Linked DNA regions of Homo sapiens: all the other regions are linked to region 1. Evidence: promoter capture Hi-C in 16 types of primary human blood cells and fetal thymus (Javierre and others, 2016). All regions are on one chromosome and are shown on one strand. Each heading gives the region's core, a stretch centred on a gene start or on the middle of the fragment in contact. The rest is flanking DNA. Distances are from core to core; before and after follow the strand shown. Region 1 holds the start of PPP2R1B (protein phosphatase 2 scaffold subunit Abeta). Region 2 overlaps FDX1 (ferredoxin 1). Region 3 has its middle 5.6 kb from the start of FDX1.

Region 1 (4,117 bases), core at 186-2,685:
TCTAGCTATTGTGCTTACTTCCAAGAACCCCATTTATTTATTTATTTATTTATTTATTTATTTATTTATTTATTCATTATTTCATTCATTCATTCAAAGGCTCTATTGTGCTTACTTCCAAGAACGCTATTTATTTATTTATTTATTTTAGAGACGGGGTCTCACTCTGCCGCCCAGATTGGAGTACAGTGGTGCGATCCTGGCTCACTGCAACCTCTGCCTCCCGGGCTCAAGCGATTCTCATGTCAGCCTCCCGAGTAGCTGGGACTACAGGCTCCCGTCACCAGCCCAGCTAATTTTTGTATTTTTTAGTGGAGACAGGGTTTCACCAAGTTGGCCAGGCTGGTCTCGAACTCCTGGCCTCAAGTGATCCGCCCGCCTCGGCCTCAGAATCCCATGTTTTAAAAAAGTTTGTCTCCTACACTGCATTTATAGTTTTATTAATCAGGCACATAGAATTACCATTTCGGAGCTTGTGATCACCATATGTAGTTATCACTCCAAGCTGCTTAAATTCCAGTCTAAAACAAACAAAACATTCTAATTATTCTGTGCTACCCTGACAGGGGTAAGTGAAAACTTTCCATTCAGGTTTGTAAGAACGAGCTCCCAGACCTCCACCTCTTCCCCTTGCTGCCTCTGAGGACTCTTGGAGGTCTAGGGAGGCCAGTTTGGGTTTTCTTGCTCAAGAAAGTAGCCACCCCACCCAATTTGGAAGGATTAAAGCTTGTCCTAGTTTTGCTTCATTGTTGTACTTCTAGCATGCTAAAGAGCTAAAAAATGGGAGGAAGAAAATACAACAGAAGGCACCATTCCAGTACCAAACTGAAAAGAAACACAAAAACAAGAGAGCAGCATGTTTTTAACAGCTTGCGTGGAAAAAATATTGACTGGGGAGTTTGGACAGCACTGTTCATTTTCTCTCACCGCCCGCGTTATTTGTCTTACGGAGCAGGAGCCAGATACCATTCTGGAGAAAGAGCCGCGGGAAGAGGTGGAGGGGTTCTGTGGAAGTTTGAGTCTGAGCGGAGAAATTAGGGCTGGAGATCCAGTGGCTCAGGGCCAGGAAGAAGTCAGGGGAGGTGCTAAAGCCTTTTTCCTCCTGGCCTCGGGCACTCTCTTTGGTCCGCCTGAGTCTTAAGAGGGCACAGCGCAGATCATTCAGGTAGGTTCCTGGCTCCTTCAGACTACAACGAGCTGGATGAATCCCTGTCCCTGTTTCTTTCGGCTGGGGAAAGGACGCAGGGGTTCCATTCGCTTTCTTAGCCCACCCGTCTTCTTGAGTTCAGACCTACAACTCCTGCAGTGGGGGTCAGAAGGGAGCCTTAATCATCGGGACAGAAACGCGGCTCCCCAACTTCGGCTAAACCAGCGTGGCGGCCTTCGTCCCTACTGCCTGGGCGCGGGGCGGGGCCTGGGCGCGGGGCGGGAGGCGGTGACCAGCAGCAGGAGGAGAAAGAACATGGCGGGCGCATCAGAGCTCGGGACCGGCCCAGGAGCAGCGGGTGGAGATGGAGATGATTCGCTATACCCGATCGCGGTTTTAATCGACGAGCTCCGCAATGAAGACGTGCAGGTACTGGACTGAGGCCGGGGACCCGAGGCGAGACCGGCTGGTCGCGTGGTAGAGAAGGGGGAAGGCCTGCGTCGCGGTGGGGGTGGCCGAGGTACTGAATGAGTCGGACTCGTAGCAGAAACTTGAAGGGGAGGCGGGGAATGCTCCGCGAGGGGCTGTGGTGACACGCCCCGACCCTCCCGGGTACCTCTCTAGTAACCTTGCTTCGGACCCCCTGAGGCGTCCGCCCGGAGCCTTGCCCTTCCCGGGCGGTTGTCGGGGAACCCGCTTCCCGCCTGGGCGCCCCATCCGGGCCGTGAGGTGGCCGCGTCTCTTGGGCGAGGGAGCAGGAGAAGCGCGGTGCCAGGCCGAGACGGGGCTGGAGCGGCTGAGGGGCGCAGGATGCCCAGAAGCCCTTTGAAGTGCCCCTGGATCCCTTCATCTCGGCTTGGAACTGGCTCGGCTTGTTGGGTAGAAAGCGGGGGTGGGATGGCCGATTAATCTGGACGAGTAGTGTATCCGCTCTGTGGGAACTTTTCTTTGAAACCACAGGTGTTGTATTCAACCGTTTCACCTGCTTCACCACTGCCAAAGTGCTCTCTTTTTAAAATTATCTTACTTCCTAGGTGTTGTATTGTCTTTCCTTCATTTCTCTTCCGGTCCCTTCTGAGTGTTTCTCCTGGGAAATCCTCCGCCGGCTAGTGAGGCCGAGTTACACTTCTTTTTGGAAGTCCTTATGAGCTTCCTTAACAGTAAAATCTAAATGAAAGGTTATCTTCATTCTTACCCCTGTGTCATAATTTCACCTGTTAGCACCTTTTGTCTTTTGATCTAAATTCAGCCGTTTCTTTACATTGTTCTTCTTTCTACTTTCTTTTCTGAAGCTCCGACTCAACAGTATTAAGAAGTTATCAACAATTGCCCTAGCACTTGGAGTAGAAAGGACCCGAAGTGAATTGTTGCCATTTCTTACAGGTATGTGAATCTTTGTTTAAAGAAAGGTAGGGACATTCCATTTTCCAGTAGCTTTCAACACTGACTTTTTTAGAGTTTATTACCCACATTAAAATGAGCCAGGTGTTTTTTGTGCAAAAGAAACAGAACAGAGTATATTGTTAGTTGTGGCTAGATATATTCAAACATCAACCATTTAGCTATTGAAAGTAATTGATACGGGAGTATGAATTTCTAATTCGTTGTGCAAAGCAGATACAGGAAGACGGTTGAGAAGAAAGAAAATGCTGTTAGGATTTTGACTGGGTCACCTTCCTGGTCGCATAGTGAATCTGTTCCTAGTTTTGTGTCAGTGTCCAGCTGTGGGAGAGCTATCCATGTTGATGAGTCCTGTTGTTGTCACTTCCAGATACAATTTATGATGAAGATGAGGTACTATTAGCTCTTGCTGAGCAGCTGGGAAATTTCACTGGCCTAGTGGGAGGTCCTGACTTTGCCCACTGTCTGCTGGTGAGTATTTATAAGCTGCCTACCCTCCTTCTACAACTTTTGCAGTATAAATGATACATTGTTTGGTGATAGACACACTGCAGCATTTTTTATGCAGATCTTTTTATGGGCAGATAGTCATAATGTTAGTCATTGAGAGAATAAGTACTGTAGGCACTTTGCACTCAACTCCTTTTTTTTTTTTCTGTAAATAAGAGAACTTCGTCCTCCTTTTCTGCGTCTGTAGACTTATTAGTTTAGATGTAGGGAGAAAAAGGGTTTGATTGTTTTTATGGTTCCCCCGCGCGATGGTGGAAGTTTTAATTCTCACCTAGCAGCATTTTGTCTTTGTCAGTTTAACTTTTGCTTCTGACTTTGTGAGTTTGATGAATTTAGTTCAATTTAATTGACATTTATTGAGAGTCTACTTTATCAGACACATCATAGTTTACAATGTTAATGTTGAAGAAGACCAATGTGAGGGGGCTTGGTGGCACAAGCCTGTAGTACCAGCTACTCAGGAGGCTGAGACTGGAGGATCACTTGAGCCCAGGAGTTTGAATCCAGCCTGGGCAACATAGTGAGACCCCCATCTCTTAAAAAAAAAAAAAGACCACCAAAATGAATCTAATGAGGTCACTGCCTTTATGTGTCAGCAAATAATTACCGTGCAGTCGTAAATGGAAAGATATAAGTACCCACAAAATACCCACGTAATAGAAGGGAGAAAGGGATTCACTCCGGGTGATCAGGGAAGACCTTGGGAGATGATGTCTGAACTAGGTTTTAAAGGATGACCAGGAATTCAACAGTTGGACAAGGTAGGGGTGTATGTGTCAGAGCTTTGAATACTGGGTATGTAATACTGATTCTTGTGATTTCTGTCTCTAGTTCTGACTTTTCCATGGAACTCCTGAGGTAGATTGATTAATAGATAAGTATGAATATATATATATAGAGAGAGAGAGAGAGAGAGAGTTTTTTTTCTGTCTATGTATATAGGCCTATGCTTTTTTCTACTTGTATGTCAAACAGGTATTTCAAACTTAACATACCCAAAACAAAACTTAGCTTTATCCCCCAAATACACCTCTCATTTAGTTGTTCCACTTCAGTAAA
Region 2 (3,994 bases), core at 957-3,456, 1.3 Mb after region 1:
GCCACAGGCCACACAGCAGGTGAGCAGAGGGCAAGTGAGGGAAGCTTCATCTGTATTTACAACTGCTCCCCATTGCTCACATTACCGTCTGAGCTCCACCTCTGTCAGATCAGCAGCTGCATTAGATTCTCATAGGATGAGAACCCTACTGTGAACTGTGCATGTGGGGGATCTAGGGTGCACCCTCCTTATGAGAATCTAATGCCTGATGATCTGTTACTGTCTCCCATCACCTCCAGATGGGACCTAGATCTAGTTGCAGGAAAACAAACTCAGGGCTTCCCACTGATTCTACCTTATGATGAGTTGTATAATTATTTCATTATATGATACAGTGTAATAATAATAGAAATAAAGTGCACAATAAATGTAATGCACTTGAATCATCCCAAATCCATCCCCACCCCAACCTTGCCCATGGAAAATTTGTCTTCCACAAAACCAGTCCCTAGTGCCAAAAAGGTTGGGGGCCACTGCCTTAGAAAATACAACGGTAGTTACCAGCAGATGGGAGTGGGGGTAAGGAAATGAAATGAGCATGTGCTGTTCAAAGGCTACAAAGTTTCAGTTAGGAGGAATTTGTGTTTAAGATCTCTAGCACAGGCCGAGCACAGTGGCTCATGCCTGTAATCCCAGTACTTTGGGAGGCCGAGGCAGGCAAACTGTTTGAGGTCAGGTATTCGAGACCAGCCTGGCCAACATGGTGAAACCCCATCTTTACTAAAAATACAAAAATTAGCTGGGTGTGGTGGTGCTCACCTATAATCCCAGCTATTAGGAAGGCTGAGACACAAGAATCACTTCAACCCAGGAGGTGGAGGCTGCAGTGAGCCAACATCATGCCACTGCACTCCAGCCTGAGTGACAGAGTAAGACTCTGTCTCAAAATATTATAAAAAATTAATTTTAAAAAATCTATAGCAACAGCATGGTGACTGCAGTTAATAATAATGTATTGTGTATTTCAAAAGTTACTAACAGTAAATTTCAGATGTCTCATCACAAAAAATAAGTGAGGTGAAGGATATGTTTATTAGCTTAAGTTAATCATTCCACATTGTATACATGTATCAAAACATCACACTGTACCTACCCCATAAATACAATTATGATCTGTCAATTAAAATTAATAATAATAACATACTTCATGCCTTAGCACAGATAATAACCTGATTTAGGAACACCTTACAGCAACACTGATATTAGCCCCTGGTGCTAGCATTTTAGCCACCATCCTGGCTTGGTTATACAACAATTTTCATGAACTTAAAAGTATATACATTTTAGTACTGCTTTGATTTTGTTTACATACTGGCTAACAATTCAGAGTGCTTTCTCCTAAATTAACAGTAGTATGTATCATGACAGGTTTTTGGCTTTCTTCCTAACATTTTGTTATATCTAACCTCTATTCCAAAATAACTCATTTTCAGATACATTTTTCAGTATTAGCACTTAATGCTTGGCTGAAACTGATACAGGCTTTAAAAATGATTTTAAATTATAACCACAGTTTAAAATATCATCACCATAGTCAAGAAAATCATACAGATATTCAGATGTCTATAAACAGCATGGTTCACATGGTGCTGACAAAGGATGGCAGGGATTTGTTTATTAGCTAAAATGGTCCATCTTTAGCTGCAGTAACAAATGTAAAATTTACAACTCACACAGCCTGCCAGCTTAAAATTACAGGATTCCTGACAACAGTTTTGGTTTCTGCAATGCTTCTGATTTTGCTAGAGTAAGAATCTCAATACTGTTAATCTGCACAATTTCAAATATATGCATATAAAATGACATGAAGAATAGTAAAGCATGCTTACTAATTTCAAGGTTGGTGAACTCATGAACCAAGTTTTGTTTTTTTAAAACAGGAATAATGATAGTAAGTACTTGGGCAAATCCTCAGAAGTTGTAGCTGTGAAATTAATTCCTAGAGAAAGTCAGATCTCTGCAGACTGCTCTGCTCCTTTCCTTTCATGTAACTTGAGTGTTTGCCAACGGGAAAAGACATTTTGTGTGTGTGCATCTCATATTAAGATCATTTTGTATTATCTACTACGATGCTGACAATACAATTGCCTGCCCCGACACCTAACCCCTTTCCCAAACAAAAATCTAGAGGATGGCTGTGTGGGAATATTATATATTAGAAATGGAAATTATGTGTAAATATAAAATCTAATTTTCTAGATTAAAGATTGATCTAGCATAGTCAGAAATACATTATATCAATAGGGACTCAAGCATGAGGGGAATACAAATAAACTTATACAAACACAATCAGGATCTTCCAATTTGTATAATTTCCCTCAAAACAGACACATGAAGAAAACAGGTAATATTGAAGAAAAAAATGTCTTGAGAGTAAACTAGGTAAGTTGAATCTCAGGTGTGTAACTGCCCCCTAGTGACAGAATATTATGATACACTCTGAAAACAGGTACCTGCATCATCCAAAAGATCTATATTAATATAAAAGTTGGCAATGAGAATGTTTATAAGTTTGAACTGTTTCCAAAATTTATGACTGTCCCTTTTTATTCATGTGTTCACTTATTACTTCATTTCGTATACAATGAGGAATTAAACAGGAATGACTTTATCCCTCATCGCAGTCTATTGGGAAAGATACACAAGAAATACATAATTACTAAACTGTGACAAATACTATAAAACAAGTGAACAAGATGCTGAGAAAGAGAATAATGGGTTCAGGGTAACAAGAGAACCACTACTTTGGACTGGGTGGCTGGGCAAAGCCTCGCTAAGGAAGTACATAAATTGAGATTTGATAGATGAAAAGCTAAATTTTGGGGATGGGAGAGAGAGGGATGTGTCTCAGGGAGAGGGTAAAGTATATACAAAGTCTCAAAGGTAGGAATTTTGGGTGAGTTCAAGCTCTTGAGAAAAGGCCAGTATCACCAAAGTGAGACAAAGAACAATGAGAAAAAAACAAAAAAGAGGAAGAGTGGCAGATGGGGCCAGATAATGCAGAGCCTTTTACGGCTGGGAATACAGATTTTATCCTATGTGCAAAGGAAGACACTCATGGTTTTTTGTTTGTTTGTTTGAAGGAGTCTCACTTTGCTGCCAGACTGGAGTACAGTGGTGCAATCTCGGCTCACTGCAACCTCCGACTCCCTGGTTCGAGGAATTCTCCTGCCTCAGCCTCCCAAGTAGCTGGGATTACAGGCATGCACCACCATGCCCAGCTGGGTTTTTTTTTTTTTTTTTTTTTTTTTTTTTTGTATTTTTAGTAGAGACGGGGTTTCATTATGTTGGCCAGGATGGTCTCAATCTCTTGACCTCGTGATCCGCCCATCTCGGTTTTTTTTTTTTTTTTCCAAGATGGAGTCTTAGTCTGTAACCCAGGCTGGAGTGCAATGGTGCAATCTCAGCTCACTGCAACCTCTGACTCCTGGGTTAAAGCAATTCTCCTGCCTTGGCCTCCCCAAGTAGCTGAAATTACAGGTGCACGCCACCACACCTGGCTAATTTTTGTATTTTTAGTAGAGACGGGTTTTCACCATGTTGCCCAGGCTGGTCTCAAACTCGTGACCTTGTGATCTGCCCACCTAGGCCTCCCAAAGTGCAGGGATTACAGGCGTCAGCCACTGTGCCTGGCCCACTCATGGCTTTTAATCAGGGGACTGACATGTCTGATTTCTGTTAGGACAAATTACCTGGCTGTTAAACTCCAGAGCAGAAGCAGGTTAGCACAGCTCCAGGCGCCCAGTGGCTGGCCAGCCCCTCGTGCCGACTGTAGGGATGGAGCCAACAGGACATGCTGGAGGCGAATCTTGGGGGCACAACTGGCAGGAGGTGCCGATGGACTGGATGTCAGGTTGGGAAGAAAGAGGAAGGAATGGTGCTCTACGGTTTCAGGTTCGAGCAGCCGGGTGGTGCTCATTACTGAGGTAGGAAAGACTCGAGGAAGGACAGGTTTCATCAGGAGGAAAAAAGGCAAAAGCTGTTTTAAATATGT
Region 3 (3,720 bases), core at 592-3,091, 1.3 Mb after region 1:
TTCAAGTGATCATGCCCCTGGAATACTGAACGTGTCCAGTGAGATCGTAAATGAAAAAGGCTTGCTGGTTTTGGCAGGGTCTGAATTATTCACCCCTGTTCTCAAGCGTAACCTGGGGAACATTTTCCTAATCACCCTGGAGGTGACCACAGCCGTAAGTTAGTACCACACAGCCAATATGTCCCATTTGGAGCTAGCCAATAAATACCTAGTTGCTACAACCAATCGGTGGCATGCCAGTCAATGTCTTGTAATATGATAATGTGGTCACAGCATTCTCCCAGTATCCACCCCATATTTCTCATACTTTCTGGCCATAAATCCTTGGTGTGGTTTCTTTGCTCCCAGCATTTTGGCTGAGTTGGCCAAATGAAGGGGTGAGCCAGAGAAATTCATCCCAAATTTGCATTATTCCATTTTGAAATGGGCTGTTGTTTGGGGCATAATTACCACCTTTTTTTTTTTAGTTGTGGGGGATGCTAAAGTGAGAGCTAATGAGCTGGTCCTTTCCATTGAAAAACTTTTCCCATCTTCCTTGTTCTCTTATGCCAGCACTAAGAATACCAGACCATTTCTGTGATATAATAAATTTTTGGTCCTAACCTTGGAAGGAGGATACCTACCATGGCAGGCCAGAGCCACTGGAAAGAGGCATGAGTCTGTATATCCAGCAGGTGTCCTTTTGTAATCTGTCTGCATACTCCTGAGCCTATTGTAGAAACAGGTTTGTTTCACTGGAGTCAGTGGGTGAAAATGGCAAGAAGGTGTAGGGATATAGGGTCAATAATAGCAAGGTTGTAAAATTCATTTAGCTACTAAAAGGATGTTAAATCAGACAAGGCAAGTGTCCTGTTCTTTGTAAGACAGCAGTTGCCAGTAGCTCTGGGACAATAATTGTCATGGTTATTATACAATAAACATAGGCATTCTTTTGTTTACAGGCCTTGTCCTGTGTCTTGGGGTTAAACAGTCCACACAGCTGTCATCTGCTTCTATGCTGGGTTGAAGGTCAATGTTTAGTGAACTGGAGGTGAAGGTCTTTGATAGGAGTTACAGTCCACTCAGGAGTTTGTGTCTTTTTAAGATGAGAGATGTGAATCCATGAGGCTATACCCTCTAATTTTGTGGCACGTAGATTAGTTAATAGTACCTAGTATGGGCCTTTCCATCGAGGTTGAAGAGAATCCCTTATTAAATGTCTTTTTCAATAGACCAAATCTCCAGGCTGCAGATCTTGACCAGGCACCTTATCTTCAGGGAGCACACTGTGAAAGGAATTCTTTACCAAATCTTGGCTTTTTTAAGATGATAAATGAATCCCTCCCAATATTGTGATATATCTCCCTTGAGAAAAGTTGGATTAGTTATTTTCATTCCCATACATATGGGCCTTCCAGTTATAATTTCATAAGGGGACGGTTGATGTTTTCCAAGAAGGGTGGATTGCAGTATAATCAGCACTAGGGCGAGTGCTTTGGGCCAGGGGAGGTGAAATGCCTCTGTGAACTTAGCCAATTGTGTTTTAATTATTCCATTGGTCCTCTCCACCAGGCCTGAGGACTGGGGATGGTAGGCACCCTGAAAATGTTGAAATATGGCCAAACTGTACAAATATTTTGAAAAATCTGGCCAGTAAAGTGAGTTCCCCTATCACTGCGAAGTTCACAGGGGACTCCCCATAGTGGAGTCATTTTTTTTAGTAGGATTTTTCCAACTGACGTGGCTGTTGCTTGCCTGCAGGGAAAAGCTTCAACCCAATAGGAAAACATGCAGACCATTACTAAAACACTGATAACCTTCAGATGATGGCAGCTGGATAAAATCATGCTGCCACACCTCAAAAGGTCTGGCCGGAAGGGGAAAATGACCCTGGGCCCCATGGAGGGGTTTTCCTGGATTATATTTGGGACAAATAGCACATCAAGAGTAAGCTTTTTGTGCCACTGTGAAGGATGGTTTCCAGTAATATTGTTTATACCAGGATATAATTTTATCAGGATTCCAGTGGGTTAGGTTGTGAACATATTCCATAAGGGACACCTGACATCCTATTGGAATAATGGGTTTATTATTAGGTCCACACCATATTTCAGTTTCGGGAGACAAAAATCCCCCTGCCTGTTTCCAAGTAGATTTCTCTTTTGTAGGAGCTATGTTCTGGGTTTCTTTCAACATGTTTTTAAGTGTTTCAGGTTTTATGGCCATTTCCCAAATTGGGGCTGGTGGATCAAATGCTACCCTTTTAACTGTGATATCAGCCAGTTGGTTACCCCGACTTTCTGTGGTGTCTGACAGTGACCTGGGATTTTTATAGCTGCCAACGTTTTGGTTTTAGAATAGCTTCTAACAGCTCTGATACTTGTTGTCCATTTTTTATGAGTTGCCCTGAGGAAGTTAAAATATCCTCTCTCTTTCCATAGCCTCACAAAGTCATATGCAACCCCAGAAGCCTAGCACTGTCAGTATAAATGTTTGCAGCCTTGTCTTTTGCTAATTGACAAGTTCAGATCAGGACAATCAATTTGGCCACTTGAGCTGATCTGGCTTGGGGAAGAGGACTGGCTTCAATTACCTCTAGTAAGGAAACCACAGCATATCCTGGTCTAAAATTTCCATTCTTTCCTCTTAAATAAGACCCATCTGTATACCATTCTGTCTCAGCATTATCCAGTGGCATCTCTTGTAGGGCTGTCCTGGGTGTGAGAAATAGGTCAGTTACCAGAACACAGTCATGACGGGTTTTGTTGGAAGGGCCCAGCAAGAGTGGCCAGGTTAAGATTATTACAGTGGGAAATGGTAATATTGGGAGATGATAAAAGAATAATTTCATAAGAGGCTAACCAGTTGACAGAGAGATGTTGAGTATGATGAGAGTTTAGAAGGGTTTCAAGAGAATGCAGCACAAAAATGTTAAAGGGGGAACCCATATTTGTTTCTTCAACAGACTTTTACAGAAGGGCCATGGTTGCTATTGCTCTCACACAAGGAGGCAGCCCTTGAGCCACAGGGTCCAGCTGTTGGCTATGATAGCCTCTAGGTCTCTGCTGATCATCAAGTTTCTGGGTCAGTACCCTAGATGCAGTACCTCTGAATTCACGTATGAAAAGGGAGAAAGGCAATTTGTAGTTTGGGTGCCCTAAGACTGGGGCATTAGAATTTCCTTTATCTGTTGTACATCTGATTTTCCCTCTGGAGTCCACATGATGGGATCAGGTTGTTCAATTTTTAGGTACGCATACAGAGGTTGAGGTATAAGGGAGAAATTTGGTATCCAGTTTCTACAATAGCCTGCCAGGCCCAAAAGTCCTCTAAGTTGTTTCCTGGTGGTGGGCATTGGGAAAGCTAAAATTCCTCTCACTCTATCAGGGTTAATATTCAGTCCTTTGACTGAGATAATATGCCCCAAATACTTAAGTTGCAGTAAGCATAGCTGCAGTTTGTCTTTAGACACTTTGTGTCCCTTGGTGGCTGACTAAATATAGACTATCTTCCAGAGAGGAAGAGAGTATGTCTGAGCAAAGGAGAAGGTCATCCACATACTGGATGAGTGTTGAGCCCTGGGGAAAAATTAATCCTCTAAATCAACTTTTAATATTTGGGAACAGTAAACAGGACTTTCTGTATACTCTTGGGGGATTACAGTCCACATATATTGCCATTTTTTCCAAGTAAAGGCAAACAAATACTGGCTGTCCAGATGTACAGGAGTACTAAAGAAAG

Evidence for each region. The method cuts DNA at HindIII sites, captures the fragments that hold promoters and counts their contacts. A CHiCAGO score of 5 or more calls a contact.
Region 2: a fragment that was not itself captured here is called in contact with the fragment with the promoter of PPP2R1B in region 1 in 1 of 17 cell types (naive CD8 T cells); the score reaches 5.4 in naive CD8 T cells.
Region 3: a fragment that was not itself captured here is called in contact with the fragment with the promoter of PPP2R1B in region 1 in 2 of 17 cell types (fetal thymus and activated CD4 T cells); the score reaches 8.5 in fetal thymus.

Annotation. Positions count from the first base shown.
Region 1 is chr11:111,763,707-111,767,823 of GRCh38, reverse strand. It overlaps PPP2R1B (protein phosphatase 2 scaffold subunit Abeta), which reads left to right and starts at 1,435. Exons shown (of 15, transcript NM_002716.5): 1 at 1,435-1,576; 2 at 2,440-2,530; 3 at 2,919-3,019. The coding sequence starts at 1,463. RefSeq lists enhancers at 1,370-1,419, 1,440-1,619, 1,506-2,409. The HindIII fragment of the contact is 3,920 bases long and covers 729-4,117 here.
Region 2 is chr11:110,446,536-110,450,529 of GRCh38, reverse strand. The region is part of intron 2 of FDX1 (ferredoxin 1); the gene reads right to left. Among named protein-coding and RNA genes, the nearest start is that of FDX1, 19 kb to the right of the region's middle. The HindIII fragment of the contact is 4,319 bases long and covers 47-3,994 here.
Region 3 is chr11:110,422,501-110,426,220 of GRCh38, reverse strand. No RefSeq gene overlaps it. Among named protein-coding and RNA genes, the nearest start is that of FDX1, 5.6 kb to the left of the region's middle. The HindIII fragment of the contact is 184 bases long and covers 1,750-1,933 here.